Linked DNA regions of Homo sapiens: region 1 is linked to region 2. Evidence: promoter capture Hi-C in human tissues and cell types (Jung and others, 2019). All regions are on one chromosome and are shown on one strand. Each heading gives the region's core, a stretch centred on a gene start or on the middle of the fragment in contact. The rest is flanking DNA. Distances are from core to core; before and after follow the strand shown.

Region 1 (2,700 bases), core at 170-2,669, 590 kb before region 2:
TAGGATCCATGTTTGAGGTGATAAGAAATATACGACCTTATTCATGCTCCATCTTCAAATATAATTTTCTCAAATTTAAATTGTCAAGGAAATTCAACTTTTTAAAAACCTAAATCTACCTCCAATTATACCTACTTCAAAGACTTCCTAGCCCATTTGGGGGAATGGGGCTTGAGGTAGGGAACAGCTAATTCAGAATCAAATCTATCTCTTGTTTAGTGCCAGACTGGGTGATACAGAGCAGAGATGCTGCAGGGGACTGAGAAGGAAGAGACAGATGTGGAGGGAGGGCCCGGGAGAGGTGGGGCTATGTCGAGCTTAAGAGGCCTGAGCAGGAGAGCAGGTGGAAATGTGAGAAGGGCCATCCAGATGGAGCCATAGAAGCAAAAGCCCAGAAGCAGGGATGTGATGCATCACATTCCCAGTAGGACACAAGGAGTCCAGTCTGCTGACCCACAAGGTTTGTGCCAGGAAGGAAGCAATAAGTAATTCAACAAACAAAAAATATTGAGTGAAATCCCATTCTGCAATGAACATTAAATTAAATACCTCATAGAATACCATACCAATGCCGCCATAATTTGCAGAAAAGTCTTCCACTTTTATTCTTAAAATATTTGGATAGCTCACATTTTTAGTCCATTATGCTGCACACGCATAGCCCAGGTTTTGATTCTTGAGCACCCAAGGACCAGGTGACCCTGCCTAGCAGCCAAGAACTCAACTTGGGCAGCAATGATATCTCTATCCACAGGCCAGGGTCTGTGGGATGACCTAATGGTAGATTTGGTTTTGTTTTTATTATGTTATTAAGTACAGAAAGGGGTACAAATGTAAATGCTGATATTAGCTATAAGAAACATAGTTTTCAGACAGGTAAAGCAGTTGAAACAAAGATGAAAATACTTAGAAATTCCCCCAAATGACAAATCTTCCATTTCAAGTACTCATTGGCCATAGATTGGTCAACTGTATATTTGGCTGTGAAGAAAAGGATCAAAGCGTATTTAACAAATATTTATATAGAGCTATGTGCCAGGCACTGCTTAAAGCAATTTACAAATATTAACTCATTTAAAAATTAAAGAGACATAAAAGTTAAAGACACAAATAATCACGAGGCACCATGGGATACACATAAATAGAAGAACAGCCTACAAAATAAATGGCCTCTCTTCAGAAATGTCAAGGTCAATTAAAGACAAAGAAAGACTGAATTACTATTCCTGACTAAAGGAGACTACAGAACATGACAACAAATTGCAACAAGTTATCCTTTTTTGGATCAGAAATCAGAAACTTTTTTTGCTAGAAAGGATTTTAAAGTGACCACTGATTAAATTTAAATAAAGTCTGTAGATTGTTCAATTGTATTTATTAGTGCTAATATCCAGATTTTGATAATGTTTCTGTGATTATGTAAAAGAAAGTCCTTGTTTTCAGAAAATCCACACTAGTATATTTAGGACCAAGGGACATCATGTTCACATCTTACTCACAAAAATGGTTTGAAAAAATAATAATAAAAATGTATAAAGAGAGAGAAAATGGTAAACATTAGAAATGCTAACATTTGGGGAGTTTGAGTAAAGGCATACAGGCAATTTTTGTATCATTTTTACATTTTTTCTGTAAGTCTGAAATTATTGAACAAAAAATTATAAAATCATAGAACATATGTAATCAAAACATTATGTCTAAATGATATGGTACTATTTTAATTTTTTAAAATCATTTTTCTCTCTGGGACCAAACAGCCCTTAGACTTTAAAAGCTATTTGGTGACTTTTGAAACTTTAGCTTTCATATATACCTTTAGGCAGGTATTATGTAAGAAAGCAGGAGAGAGGTTTAACAATGAACTTCTGCGGGGATTCAAGTGGGAGATGAGGTTGGCCTGAACTAACATGGCAGCCATAGGTCCTTGAGTTGGGAAACATATATATGAACACGACATATTTTGAAGGAAGAAGTTCCTGGACTTGGTGGGTAACTGAATATTGCCAGAAGATGAGGGGAAGGAGGAAGATGGAGATGCAAGACTTGGGAAGCTGGAGAATCCATGCACTTGATAGACCTAGAACCAGAACAGGAGACAGAAGACTGAGGTTACATTCTGCCTCTGCTACCATTCTGCTGTGTGATCTTGAGGCAAGTGACTTGAATGTAGCAGAGGCAGAATGTAACCTCAGTCTTTCATCTCAATGATAAAAAGATACTACTGGACAGAGTGATAGCTTTCTATTCTAAAAGCATTTTCCGATTAAACAATGCCAGGAAGAGGAACAGTCAATAGGCAGAGAAGTGCACAACACCTATGTTGTGTTGAAGGTGACAATATAACATTTGAGTGGAAGTTTAAGGGAATATTAGATTACAATTTATGAAATTGTTGTTTTTGTAAGTTAAAAATAATCAAATACTGTCAATTCCAGTATTTATCCATGTAAGCCAGCCTTATCCATGTGAGCCGGGAATGGATATACAAATTTAGTAATCCACTAGATGGATGTAAGAGCTGAAGTCCCAGAATGAATCAGCTTTCTGAGGATGGGGAGTATTGAATGAAAACACAATAAAGCTGAGAAGAGAACTTAGCTGGTCACAGAGATTACATGGATTTGTTAGTCATAAAAACAAATATTTATTGGAACCCAACTATGGGCCAGGCACTCTGCCAATGGTAAGAATCCAGAAGTG
Region 2 (2,700 bases), core at 169-2,668:
GCTGGATTATTGCGGACTAAATGTGTTTGTGTGGGAGCATGTGTGTGCTTTCGTGTGTGTATACCTGTATGTCTCCAACAGGGCCGCACCCAAGGGAGCAGGCTGGTTCCTGTCTGCATGCATCTGTGCATGTGTGTGTGCATATGTTCAAACGAATATTCGTGTGTTTGGTATGTGCAGGTATATGCTTTTGTTTGTGGAGCTGTAGGGGTGTACGCAGGTGCATTTGGGGATAGTACTGTGGTCTATATATAGATACATGTCGTGTGCGCCTGTGCCTGCGCCTTTGTTCGTGGGAAGGGGGGCTGTGGGCATGTGGTGTGCCTGCCTATATACGTGTGCGTGTCTATGCGTGTGTGCGGGGGGAGGAGACTCCGACCTCAGCGATTTCCCCTTCTTCTTTCCTCCCAAAAATGCAGCTGTGAATCCGTTCCAGAGTCCAAGACCAAACCGTGCCCTCCAATCCTGATTTTCTTTCTTTCTCATCGCTTCCTGCTCCCTCCCCCCATTTCCTTCACTTTTGCAGTGTCTCCGGACAGGTGTCTCAGACCGAACTTCAGCCTAGCGGTCTTGCAGCTGGTGCCGTTGGGAGGGAGCGTGGGTTAGGGCGGAAAACACCGCCTGGGGGCGTAGGTCCCCGCGCAGGGCTGGGAGGGATGGAGAAAGGGAGATTCCTGGGTACAGGAGGGGGTCTCCAGGCCGAGATCACCGGGCGACTGTCGGGGGCAGAGCCCGGCACGCTGAGCTGGGAGGGGGGAGGACAGGCAGAACTGGGAATCCCGCGCTTACCTGGATGGCGTTGGTCACGTTCCAGCCTGCCTCCCACGCCGTGATTTTGGGCTTGTCGTGGCCCCCGAATTCGCCACCACCTCCCACCTGGTCCTTGGAGCCGGAGGGCGGCAGAGGAGCTCCGCTGCCTCGCTGATAATGGATGTCTCCCTCGACGGGCGCTTCAGCGCCCTCGTCCCCGCAGGGCTCTCCCTCGGCTTTCAGGATGTCCATCTGCAGGCCCTGGCGGTGCTCAAAGTCGAGGTCGTCGCAATGCGCGAAGCCCACCGCCTCCTCATCCGTGGCCGCCTGAAAACCCATCCTGGCGAACATGCCGCTCATCTTGGCCTGGGACTTGTTGGACACGGACGTGGCCACGTTGGACAGCTTGCTGCGGAGCAAGGTGGCCATGGCGGCGGTGGGGACAGCGGAAAGGACAGAAGGACCCGAGGATGCGGGGAACGCGATGCAAGAAGGCGAGGGCTGGGGGGCGCAAAGTCGCTATCTCCGCTTGCTCTCCGCGCGGCGCCCCGGGGCTCTCTGGCTCATGACCCTCGCAGCTGGCGTTCGAGGCTCTCTCAGGGCTGGACCGGGCAAGCTGGCAGCAGGTCTGGCGGAGCGGCGGCGGCGGCGGTGGTGGCTAGTGCACTGCGGAGCTGCCGCGGGGCGCGAGCTGGGCTGCGGAGGGCGGCGGCGGCGGCGGCGGCGGCAGCGGCGTCAGAGCAGCTACGCGAAGCTGGCGCGGCGCCCCCACCCGTGCGCAGCCCAATGCGCTCCCGCCCCTCGGAATCAGGCGGTGCGGGGGTGGGGGATTGGAGAGAGGAAATACCCGGAGGCAGGGGACGTGAGGAAGGGGCTAGGAGAAGAGAAAGGGGGCGCCGAGGGATTCAGACGTGAGCTGGGGGCAGAAGAAGGGCGCCCTTGGGAAGGAGGCGGGAGGGAGCGCGTGAAAGAGGGAGCGCCGAGGGCAGGGGAGGTGGGGGGGCGAAGTGCTGCATTTCTAGGGGAGGTGCTAAGCTCGCATCCTGGCCCTTCCCACCTCGCCGCCGCAGGGTGGGAGGGGGCCGGCGTGGGCTGATGCTCGCAGTCTCCCACCCCCGGACCACCCCCTCCAGGGTCCGGGAGCTGTGCAGCCCCAGATCCTCTGGCTAAGGACTGGTCTGGGCGCCCCGAAAGCCCGCAGGACTGAGTTGTCAGTCTCTCGCGGAGCGGGTCGTCTATAAGTCAGTTTCCCTGGCACCCATCCTTCGCGCGTAAACCCGGCCGCGAGTCCCCCTTGAAGGTAGAAGTGGCTGGCATGGATCGCTCCCAAGGAAGCTCAGCCTCAGGCTCAGTCACCCGGGTTCTCTCCGCCCGTCCAGGGACGCCGCGAGGGAAGCGATTGTGCGGATCGCTCGCCACCAGCCGCTCTCCAAATGCGTGCAGAATGGAGGCGAAAGGTTGGCTTTTCTCTTTCTTTTCGTTTGGGGGTCTGGAAGAAGGCAGGACTCTATGAGGACACCTCTCGTCAGCCTCCTAGCGGGTCTGCGAATGCCCACGCCGAGAGGGGCGCAGACGGGGCCAGGCGCGGAGGAAAGAAGGGCTCGCGGCGCTGCAAGGCGGAGGAAGCAGAGGCTCGCGGTGCGCTGGGGCCCTGCTCCGACGGCCGCCTCCAGGCTGTGAAAGCTTGGGCTGTTTGTGTTGATTGGGGTACGGGTGTGTGAGCGCGAGTAAGGGAGAGACCCAGAGACAAAGACCGATGCTGTATCAGACTCTGCTTGAGGTTGGATCAGTGTGGCCTCTGAGAATGAGGTTTGGTAACCGCGTGTGTTCTGTGTCTGTGTGGTTTTGCGCGCATTCCAGTGTGTGTGCCAGAGCTAGTGTGTTGGATTACGTATGTGTTCCCGAATGGGGTTGCCTGCGTTCGTGCCTGTGTTAGTCCCTTTGTAGTAG

Evidence for each region. Contacts are between HindIII fragments. The study calls those that stand out against the background at their distance.
Region 1: a contact is called between a fragment that was not itself captured here and the fragment with the promoter of SLC32A1 in region 2, in 1 of the 25 tissues and cell types used here (lymphoblastoid cells).

The regions. Positions count from the first base shown.
Region 1 is chr20:39,316,715-39,319,414 of GRCh38, reverse strand. No RefSeq gene overlaps it. Among named protein-coding and RNA genes, the nearest start is that of LINC01734, 93 kb to the right of the region's middle. The HindIII fragment of the contact is 7,480 bases long and covers 1-2,700 here.
Region 2 is chr20:38,723,204-38,725,903 of GRCh38, reverse strand. It overlaps SLC32A1 (solute carrier family 32 member 1), which reads right to left and starts at 1,418. Exons shown (of 2, transcript NM_080552.3): 1 at 790-1,418. The coding sequence starts at 1,179. The HindIII fragment of the contact is 7,924 bases long and covers 1-2,700 here.